Regions from separate parts of the Homo sapiens genome. Here all the other regions are linked to region 1. The links are contacts of gene promoters, found by promoter capture Hi-C in blood cells and fetal thymus (Javierre and others, 2016). All regions are on one chromosome and are shown on one strand. Each heading gives the region's core, a stretch centred on a gene start or on the middle of the fragment in contact. The rest is flanking DNA. Distances are from core to core; before and after follow the strand shown. Region 1 holds the start of CFAP45 (cilia and flagella associated protein 45). Region 2 has its middle 8.8 kb from the start of DUSP23. Region 3 holds the start of LOC105371464 (a long non-coding RNA gene).

Region 1 (4,936 bases), core at 1,286-3,785:
TCTGCTTTCAGCAAGTGCTACCCTCATCAGTTAGCAGCCATTAACACTGAGGCAAGACCCTCCACCAGCAGAAAGATGATGACTCTCTCTGAAGACTCAGATGATTGTTAGCACTTTTTAGCAACAAAGTATATTTAAATTAAGGTATGCACATTTTTTTAGACATAATGCCATTGCACACCTGATAGACTACAGTATAGTGCAAATGTAACTTTCCTATGCACTGGGAAACCAAATAATTTGTGTTGCTCACATTGTATTGTGATATTAGTTTTATTGCAGTGCTCTGAAGCCTAATCTGCAGTATCTCCAAGGTATGCCTGTAGACACATGGCCAAGGGTTCTTCTCTGAGCCTTGACATGTGCTTACGTAAATGAGAGGCCTGAAGCTTAAGCATTGTTAGCTTTGAGATAAATTTTTATTGTATTTTATTTATTTTATTTTTCAAGACAGGGTCTCACTCTTGTCACCCAGGCTGGGTGCATTGGCACGATCATGGCTCAGAGCAGCCTCAACCTCCGAGGCTCAAGTGACCCTCCTAGTGCAGCCTCCCAAGTAGCTGGGACCACTGGCATGTACCACTATGCCTGGCTAATTTTTGATTTTTTGTAGAGATGGGATCTCCCTATGTTGCCCAGGCTGGTCTCAAACTCCTGGATGTAAGCAATCCTCCTGCCTTGGGCTCCCAAAGTACTGGGATTACAGGCATGTAATTGCCTGCTGGGAGGCAAGTCCCTTACACTGCACTCTGTCATTCCCTCCTTCCTGCCATAACTTTTTTAATTTTTCTTTGAGACAGAGTCTTGCATTGTTGCCTGGGCTGGAGTGATCTTGGCTCACTGCAATCTCCCCCTCCTGGCTTCAAGTGATTCTCCTGCCTGAGCCTCCTGAGTAGCTGGGATTACAGGTGCCTGCCACCACCCCCGGCTAATTTTTTGTATTTTTAGTAGAGACGGGGTTTCACTATGTCGGCCAGGCTGGTCTCGAACTCCTGACCTCGTGATCTGCCCACCTTGGCCTCCCAAAGTGCTGGGATTACAGGCATGAGCCACCGCGCCCAGCCCTTTCTGCCTCAACTTTGCACCTTTTCTTCAGAGAGTTACCCTGGGCTGAGAAAAGAATAGATTTTCAATTTGGACAGTTTTTTCTTGGCTTGTTTCCTCTTTGGTTACACGGATAGTAACTATGTCATGCAGATGTGCCTGGGAGAATGGGGTGAATACAGGAAGCACCTTATTCACAGTGGGCCGGTTACTTGTCTTCCCTTCTTTCTGAGCTGCAGGGAACGGGGTTCTAATGCCAAGGCTTAGTAAGGAAGGTTCCCACGAACAAAACAGCCCCTTCTCTCAGTCCCAAGCCTCCCAGGGACTGTGCTCCTCCTCTTCAGGCCTTCCCTTCTCCCTCTGATTAAGCCTTCAACACTTGGTGGGACTGGGCAGGGGACACAATTTTGTACTCTTGATCCCAAAGGAGATAAAGGCTGGGAAATCTAGGGAAGGAATGTGAAGCCTGTTGGAGTAAGTCCTTTTAAAAGCAGCAAGAAGTGACCTTGTCTCCCTCTTTCCATTCCCCCGGGGCTTGTGAATAGCCTTCAGTGCCCAAGTTGGAGTAAGAGCTTCAGAAAGACTGGCTGTGAGGGTTTGGAGAGAGGTTTGAGAAAGCAGCTCAGAGACTCACAGAGTCACACCAAGAGCTTAGCTAATCAGCTAATCAGCACTGGAGGAAGACAAATGTCCTTGGTCTGGTGGGACAGCTTCGTGAGGCTTGGAGCATGCAGCCTACCAAAGTGAGCTCAGTGCCAGCCCTGCAAGTTGGGAGGTAGAGAGGCCAAACCAAATTGGAAAAAATGACAAAACCCCTATGTACTTTCTAGAACAATACATACCAGCTAGGAAGTGTTAAAAGACAAGCTCCCCAAAGTCAGTTCCTTAGCTTTTGACTTATTCTAATGTAGGGCCTCCATTTTTAATAAACTCTCCCAGGTGATTCTTAGCTGCAGATTTGAGGCCCGCAATTTAAGAAACTGCTCTTGAGACTGCATAGACATCCTCAGGGCTGGAAGTTCTTTGTTGACCCGACCAGATTCTCTCCTGCTGTGGAACTGGTTTGTCCTGATCCTGCTGGCTTCTCTGCAGACTACACTCATCAGGGGTTGGCTTGGCGCCTCCTGGGCAATGGGGCAAGAGTAATCATAGCAACCTAGGTGAAGTCCCAGGGGAAAACTGTGACCCTGGGCCAGGCTCCTGGGGCCGCTGACAGTTAGAACCCCCTCGGCCCATAGTAAGTTCTTTAGGTTCGGGTTCTGACCGAAAAGTTTGGCCAAAGCCAAAGTGGAGAGCAGGGCACGCCAGGGCGGGTCAATCCTTCAGAGCCGCGGTTGGGCTGGAGCGTGGAGCTGCAACGGTTGGAGCGACGGGCTCCGGTTCCTAAGCCACCAGCACAAGGCAACTGCCCGCTGGAGGTGGGAGGGGCGGGGCCGGGGGCGGGGCCTGAGCCGAAGAACGCGGGCTAGTGGTTGCCAAGGTAACGCGTCAACACTAGGGCCTTGGCGGCGCCGAGGCGGCAGCAGAAGTCCGGAGTCAGGGCGTGTGGCTGAGGAGATGGTGAGGGAGAACCTCAGATGGGCCCCTTGTGTCCTGAATTGGGTGGGGGCTCTGAGTGGGGAAAGTGGGGGCCTAGGGGAGGTCACAGTTGGGTCTAGGGGTCAGGAGGGCCCAGGAGTAAGGAGAACACCTCTAGAAGAAGCAAGGGAGATCCTGAGGTGGGTTCAAAAGAGGAATTAGGGATAGCATCGATAACGATTGGAAATGTGGAGCGCGCTGAGCGGAGGAGTTGGGGAGAAAGGGATGCCCCAACCCTCTCCCCGTTGCCATTACAGCGGGGCCTCTGTGGACCAAAGATTGTGGATGTGGTGTGGGAAAAAGCACTGGTGGGCCGGGCGCGGTGGCTTACGCCTGTAATCCCAGCACTTTGGGAGGCAGAGGCGGGCGGATCATGAGGTCAGGAGATCGAGACCATCCTGGCTAACACAGTGAAACCCCGCCTCTACTAAAAATACAAAAAATTAGCCGGGCGTGGTGGCGGGCGCCTGTAGTCCCAGCTACTCGGGAGGCTGAGGCAGGAGAATGGCGTGAACCCGGGAGGCGGAGCTTGCAGTGAGCCGAGATCGCGCCACTGCACTCCAGCCTGGGCGACACAGCGAGACTCCGTCTCAAAAAAAAAAAAAAAAAAAAAAAGCACTGGTGAGGAGGCCAGATAATGGGTCGTGGTACCTGTTTTGCCACTAACTAGCAAGGTGACTGTGGGTAAGTCATCTAATGTGCCCGAGCCTCAGGTTTTTCTTCTGTTAGCAGGGCTTTGTATCCCTCAGTAGTTAGTCAATAAATATTTGGCAGTGAATGAATGAATGAATAAATGAGTGAGTGAGTGAGGAGGGTCTCAGGTTTGCAAGGCCCGGGAGAGAGATTGGGACAGGACTGGCAGCCTGGGGTTTGCTGGGATGGGGAGGGCTGTCAGGGTACTGAGGGCTGAGAAGGCCAGCAAAGCCTGGGAGGAACCATGAAGGGGATGCCTGGGCTTGAGTGTGTTGGTCCCAGAGGGGAGGGGAAGGGCAGATGATAAGTGTTGGAGTCTTGGGTTATTGGAACTGACCTAGAATGTCTGGGGCACAACAGGTGGCAAAGGTTGCTACTTGGATGTACTTGTGGACAGACTTCAGGCCCAGGGGCTGCATTGCTTTTCTGGGGCTCAGTGGACCTCAGAAGAATTTTGTTAATTATTAAATAAGTCTCCAACAAAGAGCAGTTCCTGACTTTCGAGGACTCCCTGCAGTGTTGTAATTGGGGTGGGGGAGCGTCCCCTTTCACTTATGTATTCTATTTGATTCAGTGTCCCATCTTCTCTCAGCACCTTACAAACACAGTGGCGTATGTATGTATGTGAACACCTACTGTCATGCCTGGTGTCTAAGGGCATATGGTAAATGTTAGTTCCCCTTTTGTCCTCTTTTAAAAATTTCCTATTTCCAAGCTCTCATAGGGCATAAGTTGCACCTGGGCAAGACCTGTGGGCTTCAGAGCACCCAGATCAGGGATTCCCCATCCAGGAGCCACTCAGGGCAGGGGTTTGACTCACTCACTGAGCCCCTCTGTAATTCCTGGGACAGGACTGGGCATATAGACACCTTTGAGAAGCAGTGGGTCTAAGTTAGTGATCTCTGGCAGGCCAGCTGTGTGTGTTCGTGTACGTATAGTGCTACTCACTAGGTTTGGAGAATATTTAAAGGCATGAGAAGAGATAGTAGTGGTGGTGAGGGTCACAATTAGGCAGACTTCCAGAACTCTTACAAAAATAATGATTAAAATCCTGCAGAAGGAGAGATGGGGACCTCAGTACTGACTAGGATGTTATCTTCTGGTGGCATCCTACAGATGGCCAACTTGGTCCCAATTGAAGAAAGAGGATAATTGCGTGGATCACTCAGAGTAAAAGGCAAGGGGTCTCGTGCATGGGAATCTCCCTTTCTTGGTAACCAAAGTCTACAGAAAGGGAAGTAGAACCAGGCCAAGAGTTTGAAGCCTGAATTTGCCAGCCTGCGGAGACTGTGCAAAAGAAGAACTAGATCTCAGAATGGGTAAGACATCTAGGAAAAGACATATCTTTCCTGAACATGTCAACCTGTTTAGTTGACAGGTGTTGAAGTTACATCAGGGAAACTTCACACTGACCTATTCTAGCCCCATTCCAGCTTTGTCTTGCTGAATTTGAGTGAAACATTCTGGATCCCAGAATATATAATGCTATGGTTTTTTTGTTTGTTTGTTTGTTTGTTTTCTTTTTTAGGTCTGTACTCTCTTGCTTTCAGAGTTCGGGCACCAGGCCCATTGCTATGCTTTGTTTTCAAATAAAAATTGTTTTATTGTTTTTTTTTTCTGG
Region 2 (4,936 bases), core at 1,320-3,819, 110 kb after region 1:
AGGGACAGGAGAGGACTCCCTGGTGCCCGTGCTGGTCTGTGATTTTCTACGTCTTCAGGTGAACAGTGCTGACCAGGAGATGCCTGAGTTGCCAGACTCAGCTGCCTTGACTTTTCCAGGACCTGGGGTGTTCCTCTGTGGGGAGCTGTCTTTGCAGTCCCCAGGCCTCCCCTCCTCAGCACACATCATGCCCTCTGTTTACAGAAAAAACATACCACCTGATCTGTGTGGCTTTTTAGTACCTGACAAATTGATCACTATTTGGAGAAGAGAAGACAGGTTTGAGGGTAAGTGGACAGACGTAGTGACAGAGAAGGGGAGGGAGTAGGGATGTAACTGAGGCAAAAATTTTGAAGGCTCAGGACACCCCCTGACCTGGGACAATAGGGAGAAATGCTGGACTGAGTTGCAGCACCTGGGGTCGCTGCCTCTGTGGACCTGTGAATTGGGTCGACTGAGATATGGCAACATTCCAAGATTTAAAATGTGAATGCAGTGAATCAGGCAGAGCAGTGGGTGTGCAGGAGGCTGTGCCAGCTGCCGTCTGAAAGACATATATTTCTAGCAGGCAGGGATGACACTCACTTGAGATCCTTTCCCATTTGAAAAGCATTAAAAAATCATAACCTGCAGGTCCAGAGGGTGAGCACTCTGACTTAACAACCCTTTTACTTTCTTTTGCAAAGCATTGAAGTCATTAACTTCCAGCAAGCAGGAAAAGCAGGTTCTTACTTAACTCTTATCTTCTGAAAAGCCTTAAAAATCAGCAGCCGTGAGACCCTGTCTCTCTTTGGCAGTGTTAAATCATAATGCGCCATATTGTGGCTAAGTAACGGAGCCATTCTGTCAGAGTGTAATTTAAGGAAAATTGGACCTAGTGACATGTCCTCCACTCAGAAAACTGTGGTGACTCCACACTGTTTATCAGATATGATCCAAACCTTTTTGGCATGAGTTTTTGCTGCCCTTTCACTATCTTCACCTAACCATGCATTTCCTGCTACCCACTGGATGAGGTTTGTACTTCATCTATGCCAGTTGACTCCCCATATTATTTCCTCCCCTCACTGATACTTATTTGTCCTATTCTTCCCTCTGTCTAAGGCTCCCCATATGGACTCTGCACCCAACACATAACATTGGTATTTTTAATAACATCCAGCATTTGTGTATCCCTTAGGCTATCCAACCTCACTCTCCACATCTCTTTGAAGGTTCAACTTTTTGAATTTCACTCCTCTTATCTCTTTAATCACTATCCCATTGCTTAAGTATTTATGCATTGCATATTGGCTAATTGTATCCAACTTTGCATTTACACTTAGGAGGGTACATATGTCATGTATTCCTCCACTAGATTATCCATTCCCTAGATTTATTATTTTCTTCCCATTTATTCACCTATGTGCAGATACCCAGGTAAGTGACAGCACATCAGTTAGTCAGTCATCATCTGTTTATTGAGTATTGAATATTGATGTGCCAGGCATTGTACTGTGCTAGAGGTATGCACATGGTCCTTAGACTGTAGCAGCATACAGAGTAACATCAAATGACTAAATGAATTATTATTGGTGAGCAAAGGGCCTCAAGGTAGGACAGATACTTTGGGAATACATGGGGGCCTGTTGGAAACCTTTTCCTGAAAAAGTGATGTTTAAACTATGACCAGTAGGGGTCAGTAGGAGTTAGGAGCTAGGCAAAGAGCTGGTGAGCAAAGCATCCCACCTGCCCAGGCTGTCACGTGGAGAGGGCACAAAAAGTGTGCAGGAAAAGTAGTGTGGAGTAGTGTGCAGTAAAAGATCAACTCAGCAGGCCTGGATTGCCCAAACCCTGCACATTCCAAGGGTCGTTGAGACTGCCCTTGATTAGCTTCTGAGACCTCTGAATTCTTGAAATATCCTGCATGGTAAGAGTGTCTTTGTATACCTGAGACCATGAGCCAGGCCAGATGATTTCTGCTAACAATGTGACTTATGGTGAGCACCTGTTTGTATATGCCTAGGCTGCTTCGGGCCATATTGTTTCAGTCTGACCTGTGTTGGGGCTGGAGACTGAGTTATGTGAATGCTGCATGTCTACGTGACTGACCCCCTGCTACCTCAACAAAACAAAACTAAACTAAACTAAACTAAATAAACTAAACTAAACTAAACTAAAAACAAATGCTGGACATCAAGGCTCAGGTGAACATCCTTGGTTGGCCATATTTTGTATGTGCTGTCATACATTGTTGCTGGAAGAATTAAGCACTGTCCATGTGACTTTACTGGGAAAGGACAACTGGAGGCTTGTGCCTAGTTTCCTCTGAACTCTGCTGTATGTACCTTTCTTTCTTTCTTTTTTTGAGACGGAGTCTCGCTCTGTCGCCCAGGCAGGAGGGCAGTAGTGCAGTGGTGTGATCTTGGCTCACTGCAACCTCCACCTCAGGGGTTCAAGAGATTCTCCTGCCTCAGCCTCCCGAGTAGCTGGGACTATAGGCATGTGCCACCACCCTGGCTAATGTTTTTATATTTTTAGTAGAGATGGGGTTTCACCGTGTTAGCCAGGATGGTCTCGATCTCCTGACCTCGTGATCCACCTGCCTCAGCCTCCCAAAGTGCTGGGATTACAGGTGTGAGCCACTGTACCCAGCCCGTACGTTTCTTTTTTGTTGATTTTAACCCACTTCCTTTCATTGTAATATACTATAATCGAGAGTATATCAAGACAGGGTAATATTTTGAGAGGAAAGAAAAGAGTATAATAGCTTTTTTGAGTTCTGTGAGTCCTTCTAGCAAAACATCCAACCTGAGAGTGGTTCTGCAGACCACCAACACAGGCAGAGAGAAGAGAACAAAGCCTGTGGGAGAGAGGAGTATATAAGGTGAGGAAGGAGATGAAGAAAATGATTGGATTCCTTAGGTCCTTACAGGTCGTGGTCAAGAACGGCATGGTTCTGCCTGTAGGCTTGATACCAGTGTGGCTACTTTAATTCTATTCCATGGCTCTAGGCTGCACCCAGCCCCAGCTAGATCTCAGGAAGTGTACCTATGGAAAACATGCAAATCAGTGAATTTCACTGGGGTGGGGGAGCCCAAGGGCACACAAAATCTAGTGAAGAAGATAAGTGGTGTCACCTGTGGGATGGTGCATGGATTAATGTTTCCCATGGGGTCCCTTTGAGTTTGGAGTAGAGTCGCTAACGCTCAATGTATATTATTAAAGAAGATTCATTGGTGTGTTTACTGTAAAAGTGAGGACTGGCCAGGTGCGGTGGTTCACGCCTGTAATCCCAGCACTTTGGGAGGCTGAGGCAGGCGGATCATGAGGTCAGGAGATCAAGATCATCCTGGCTAACACGGTGAAACCCCATCTCTACTAAAAATACAAAAAATTAGCTGGGCGTGGTGGTGGGTGCCTGTAGTCCCAGCTACTCGGGAGGCTGAGCCAGGAGAATCACTTGAACCCAGGAGGCGGATGTTGCAGTGAGCCAAGATTGTGCCACTGCACTCCGGCCTGGGCGACAGGGTGAGACTTCATCTCAAAAAAGAAAAATAAAAACAATAATAATTTAAAAAGTGAGGACTGAGCTCTGATTTTTTTTTATCTTGCCCAAATTCCTATCTAAGGGGCCTGGGGACTCATGACCTTCAAACCACAAATTCTCATCAGATGGGTTATATTTAACCCTATATATTGTGACTTACTTTCCAATGTGACTCTGGCATAACATGATGTGACAAAGAAGAAGGTCAAACTATTTTACCCCAAAAGCATGTTTCTTTGCCATATTTTGAAATGGTCTTGCAAAGCTGTCCTTTGTGGGGGGACGTGTGCATCTGTAAAGAATCTCTATTAACACAGCTAGATCTTTTTCTTCCAGGCCCCCCAATCCTGAAGAGATTAAGTAAGAATCTAGTACGTTTTAAAGGCCTGAATAGGAACCATTTGTCATCTATTATCTCTAAGAGCAGCCACTATAAGATTTCAAAAGAACCTTAGTATCCACAATCTTTTATCTTTTTTTTTTTTTTTCTGAGACGGAGTCTCACCCTGTTGCCCAGGCTGCAGTGCAATGGTGCCATCTCTGTTCACTGCAACCTCCACCTCCCATGTTCAAACAATTCTCCTGCCTCAGCCTCCCGAGTAGTTGGGATAACAGGCACATGCCACCACGCCCAGCTAATTTTTGTATTTTTAGTAGAGACGGGGTTTCGCCATGTTGGCCAGGCTGGTCTTCAACTCCTGACCTCGTGATCCGCCCACCTTGGTCTCCCAAAGTGCTGGATTACAGGCGTGAGCCACTGTGCCCGGTCCACAATCTTTTATCTTAACCTGAACATTTCCTTTCCATTGATCCCAGGTCTTTAGACAAACTCAACCAATTGTCAATCAGAAAATGTTTAAATTTACCTGTAGCCTGGAAGCCTCCTCCCCACCTGCTTTGAGTTGTCCCACCTTTCTGAACCAAATCAATGTATTTCTTAAATGCATTTGATGATTGATGTCTTGTGCCTCCCTAAAATGTATAAAACCAAGCTGTACCCTGACCGCCTTGGGCACATGTTCTCAGGATCTCCTGAGGGCTGTGTCACGGGCCATGGTCACTCATATTTGACTCAGAGTAAATCTCTTAAAATATTTTAGAGTTTGACTCTTTTTGTTGACAAAAGCTAGCAGGGAAATAATCCCAGAACTGTTTGCCATACTGAATGCCACACATTGAAAACATCACTAATTTATTTCATGATTATATATCTGTGGTGACAGAGTAAGTCAGTGGAAAAATAGGGTGAAAGAGTTGTCAAAGCAATTTAAGCAATTTATTGGCACAAGAAACTCTGTTATCAAGGTTGCAAATAAGTCATCAATTTCAGGCATGGACATGCACCAAAGTGTTTCTTAAATTTCTGCTTGCTTGGACAAGCTGACTTCTCAAGAGCATGCCTCGAAT
Region 3 (4,936 bases), core at 814-3,313, 94 kb after region 1:
ACAGGTCCCATCAGTCACTTCTCTCCCTCTGTCCCCCAGCCTAAGGCCTCCTGCTGGGGATGGAGGCCCTTGGATGGCACTGGTATGGTGTCACTGTCTCCAGTCCTTCATGCCGACCAGAGAAGGGCAGGACCTGGACTTCCTTTACTCCTCCTTCCTTTCCTTCTTCTCTCCTTCCTCTTCCCTCTTTCTCTTTATTCCTTTCCCTTCCCCTCCCCTTCTTTCCTCTCCCTGTGTCTTCTCTCTGGCTTTCCTCCCACCCACCCTCCTTGTCTTCTTTTATATTGCACTTTCCTGTCTGCCTTGCCAAGCTTGGCTTAATTGCATTCATTCTGTTCATTGTCTTGCCTCATTCCTCCTGACTCAATTCCCTCCAGCCTAGATTGGCTTCTCCTCCTGTGGCTACCTAATGTGACACTTTCTGCAGCCTTCACTTCTGATAATAGCAGCATCTGTGTCCACCAGAAAGCAGCTGGTGGGGCATGTTGGAGGTGCCACAGCCTGAGTTCTCTCCCTCCTGTCTTCCTCATTGGGCTTCCTTAGGCCCAGCCTCCATCTCTACCCTCAGCAGGGCGTTTCATCTTCCACCACTCTTATGGAAGGGATCTGTTCTCTCTGTCTCTATTCCTAAAATGTATTCTGTGCACTGATGTGAGCAGGAGAAGAGCTCCCAGGGATCCACCATCACCTGCAGGGCAGGCTGAGCCTGTCCCCAGTCTGTATCTGTCCCCAGCCTGTATCTGTCCCCAGCCTGTATCATCTCTTTGATAAGCCAGACACCCCCATTCCCAGACAGCCTTCTGAGCAGGCCTGATGGCCTGAGACTAATGAGGAGTAACAGTTAGGGAGCCCCAGCACATCCTGCTCTTGCCTGGATCTTCTGGATCCTTAGGACCCACTCTCCTCACCCTGGAAGTAACGATGCTCACCGCATTACCGAACAGCAGGTCTTGCTTCCACTACTGCTTTTTCTAACAGCACTAAGTATTGGTTTGAATTATCTCCCCCTGGAATCACAGAATATGTCCTTGGAGGTCAAGATTTCATAGATCAGAATTTTTTCCTGTTTGACAGAAAGCTCCATGGAGGTCAGTGTCACAGAATGGGCTGGAGGGAAGGGGATCTGAGGAAGGAAGGAAGACTGATCAGCAGAAAAAGGTGCCTGCTGCTTCTCTGAACATAAAAGGAAGGAAGGGAGTCCCAGTCTTGTTGAGTTGAGAATATAAGAGCTCCAGAACCACTTGAAGAGAAGACAGAGGCCACAGACACTTTTAAGGGTATAAGATAGAGGCCTAGAGTCCCACTGCTGAGGCTTGTGTCACCCTAGGACTACCCTTGGCCTTAGACTAGTGGAGTTCCAAGTTCCTCCTTTTCCTAGGAACTGGCCAAGACTCCTGAGGAAGGGGCCTAGTCTGGTGCTGCTCTGCAGATGTTTCTGGGGGACCCCATGGCACTGTCCTGTTCCCATCCAGTAAGTTTTGGCCCATAGACATACTTTGAATTAGAAGAGACATGGACACAACTTACCAGTTTTCCCAACACAGGGAACTGCAAGAGAACAAAGTAACACAATTAGGTTAAGTAGCAAAAAGAGCTTTCTGACAAGGAGGCCTGTCACTTCAGCAATGGGGACTTACACCCATTCAACCAACCACCCGGCCACCAAACCTCCTAGCCACCCATCCACACAGCCATCCAACCATCCAACCACATAACCACTCAACCACCAAACAACCCAGCCATCAGCCATCCAACCACCCAACCATCCAACCATCCAACCACCCAACCACCCAACCACCCGGCCACTTGACTACTCAACGTTTGTGCTGGACGTACTCCCTAGAACTCTTTGCCCTATCACAGTTCAAATGTTGCCTTCTCAAACAGGTCTTCCCTGGGACTCCAATCAAAAGAATTTTCCCCAATCACTAAAACAATGCCCCATTGTATTATCTTCAAAACACTTATCACTATTTGAATTTATCTTATTCATTAAATTGCCTACATGTTATCACCTCTCTCTCTGGCTAGAATATAAGCTCCATAGTAGCAGGGACTCTGCTTATTTTACTCATTGCTATATTTTCTATGCCCAAGACCTGTGCCTGGAACATAGTCTGTGTTCAGTAAGCATCTGCTGAATAAATGCATGAATGTTTTCCTTTGCATCCCATTGTACGAGGTGGGAAGCAAAAAGTAGAAAACATAGGACTAGACTCTTGTACGAATGTGCCTGAGGGTCCTACCTCCAACATCTACAGGAGAACCCATATAGCAAGGGCAGGACCTGATTCTTGTGGTCCCATCTCTCCACAGAGCTCTGGCAAAAAGGGTATGGAAGTGACCAGACTGAGGAGGATAAGTCCCCTGAAAGAGTAATCATTAAAGGATGTGAGACATTATCAGGCAGCATGGATGAATGAGAGAACTACAAACAAACTGGATGCATCCCACATCATGCTTGCATCTTGGATGTGCTACATTCATGTTTTTAAATGAGTGAATGTGTGAGAACAGGTGACCTGGGAAGAGGGGCCAACTCACAAAATGATGACAGATATGGTTAGATAGGTTTGAATAGCCCAAACAATGGAAGACCTGAAATTGAAGGTCATAGCTGGATATGAAGCAGTGAAGAATCTTCTGGACTTTGGGGCAAGGTGTGAAACAATGAATGAATGTAGGGCTGAGTGCAGTCAGTCCAGCCAATCCTCATACATTTACTTGTGTCCTGCATTGCTGGCATGTCCTAGGTATTTTACATAACACCAAAAAAAAAATGCAAGAATGGCCTTGGGAAGGGTGGGTGAAAACCCTCTAAGAGCAGATGTTTGGCTCTGTCACATGGTATCATCTTTGCTTTCTACACTACTTTGGACACAGGTGGAATCTTTCAGCTCAATTCTCTATTCAGCTCAGGGTCAGCTCAGTCATATGCTCTCAAGAGTGTGCAGAACAATGAGTCTCTTCTTTATCATCCCTCCATCTCCACCCCTAACCCCCATCTATGAGCTCGGTGTAGTGGAAAGCATGCAGGATTTGGAATCAGATGACCTGGACTTGAGTCATGAATTTGCCTCTTTCTGTACGACCTTGAACAAGTTGTCTAAGTTCCAAGAGCCTTCAATATCTCATTCTGTCATATCACATAATAGAAATGATAATAGTCATTTTTTTCTTACAGTGTAGTTGTGAAGGTTATGTTGACCCACTGCCTGGGAAAGTGGTTACTACATTAACTGAAAGCAGAAAGAAGGCCTGACCTCAGAGTGACAGAGACCTTACTCTGTAGTTATGTCTTCCTTCCCTTCCCCACCTCACTGGAAAACAATTGTGCAGCTACAAAGTGCTAAACAAACAGGGTTGAGACTACTGAAGCCAAAAACAAGACAGAAGGCACTCAGGAAGCATAGATGCACTTAAAATGAGCTCCTGTCCCCAAATCTCAATGACTTGCTCCCCATGGTACTGCAAGATCTTGGAGGTGGGATTACAAAATTGGTTTCTGCAATCAAAACAGCAGCCAACTGGGAACATACACAGGGGGTGACACCTGCTTACAGCAGTTCCTGCAATGAGGGCCCAGGGACCTCCATTAGCTATAGGCTGAAGATGAGGTGACAGTATCATGAAGTGGCCAAGAGCTATGGTCAAACCAAGTTGCGTAATAGAATTCCGAAAAATGAAGGCAGGAGCCCCTGCCAACTCTAGGAGCAGGATAATTTCCTCTTAAAGTTTCTGAGGGATCGGGAGATATTTATCTGGGAAAGATGCAACAGAGGAAAGACACAAAATACTTGGTGGGCTAAGCTTAAAAGAAGGGGGAGACTTATTCTGAGTTACTTTATAGGACAGAAATGGAAACTAGAGGGATCATGGAGGCAGATTTCGGCTCAACATGAAGAACTCTCTCACCACTGAGCTCTAGCACTGTGGAACAGGCTGCAGTGCCAAGCTGCAGCAGTCACATTGCTGGGAGGGCTGTATGGGACCCCATGACACCTCCTATGGACGCTGTGTGAGAATGCGGGGAGCAGCCTCCAGTGGTAGGAGGGAAGTTGGCTAATGTTCAGCTCAGAAGAAAATTAAGCCTAATTTCCCAAACTTTAAATACATATTTCACATTCAGCCAGGTCCCCACATGCTCAATGTCAGGATTCCTTTCCTCCCGGAGCCCTGACAGCCAATAATAGTAATAGCCACCAATTTATTATGACCACACCCTGCTCTTGAGAGAGGAAATAGCAGCTCTACACTTATGGTAAGATAAATGTTGCTACACACCCAGCCCCAGTGTCTGTGTTTTAGGCTGTTTTTCCAGGGTCCCTGAGCATCAAGTGGGACCAAATTTGCTGGTGCTGGATTCTCCATTACACTGTGCACCAGTCAGCCGGTCACTGATTCCCTTCCTCTCCTCATTTGCTGTCTGTCATCCTCGTCCTGGGTTCCAAGCTGGAACACTCTCAGACTGTATCTAGACAAGTCCAAGGGCTGTTCCTTTTACAAGGTAGTGCCGGTAGTGCCATTTGCCCCTGGGAGTCTTCTGCCTGGAGTATATCCAGGCATTAGGCTATCCTGTCCCCGCCTCAGTGTGAGCATTAGACCTTTTCATTTGTCCAAATGGCCATTCATAGAACACACGAGTAGCATGCTATGCTGGAGAAGGAACATTGAGTGGAAGGGGCATTTTCCTCACAGGGTCAAATTCTCACAAACTCTGTCCAGGAAGAGGTTATATTTAGGAACAGTTTTGCTTTTCTAGTTCAAGGAATACAAATAGCAAGCAAGCTATTGGGACCAAGAATTAAACAAAAAGTAGGTCCACTTGGAAACTGTAAAGTGAAACAAAATATATGCCAAATTATTTCTTTTAGGTATAAGGGGGGTGACACTGGCTGAGACTGAGCTGGGTCTGGGGGAGCCCAGTGACCCTCTG

What was found. Contacts are between HindIII fragments. The CHiCAGO score rates a contact against its expected background, and 5 or more counts as called.
Region 2: a fragment that was not itself captured here is called in contact with the fragment with the promoter of CFAP45 in region 1 in 17 of 17 cell types (naive CD8 T cells, total CD4 T cells, total CD8 T cells and 14 more); the score reaches 15.4 in naive CD8 T cells.
Region 3: a fragment that was not itself captured here is called in contact with the fragment with the promoter of CFAP45 in region 1 in 12 of 17 cell types (naive CD8 T cells, naive CD4 T cells, non-activated CD4 T cells and 9 more); the score reaches 9.7 in naive CD8 T cells.

What each region holds. Positions count from the first base shown.
Region 1 is chr1:159,897,764-159,902,699 of GRCh38, reverse strand. It overlaps CFAP45 (cilia and flagella associated protein 45), which reads left to right and starts at 2,535. Exons shown (of 12, transcript NM_012337.3): 1 at 2,535-2,604. The coding sequence starts at 2,602. It overlaps MIR4259 (microRNA 4259), which reads left to right and starts at 2,621; the gene lies at 2,621-2,721. It overlaps LOC124904435 (a long non-coding RNA gene), which reads right to left and starts at 2,450. Exons shown (of 3, transcript XR_007066679.1): 1 at 1,887-2,450. The HindIII fragment of the contact is 6,665 bases long and covers 392-4,936 here.
Region 2 is chr1:159,787,250-159,792,185 of GRCh38, reverse strand. No RefSeq gene overlaps it. Among named protein-coding and RNA genes, the nearest start is that of DUSP23, 8.8 kb to the right of the region's middle. RefSeq lists a cis regulatory region at 1,518-1,895. The HindIII fragment of the contact is 7,543 bases long and covers 1-4,936 here.
Region 3 is chr1:159,803,208-159,808,143 of GRCh38, reverse strand. It overlaps FCRL6 (Fc receptor like 6), which reads right to left. Exons shown (of 10, transcript NM_001004310.3): 2 at 1,528-1,548. It overlaps LOC105371464 (a long non-coding RNA gene), which reads left to right and starts at 1,114. Exons shown (of 3, transcript XR_922195.2): 1 at 1,114-4,936. The HindIII fragment of the contact is 3,499 bases long and covers 314-3,812 here.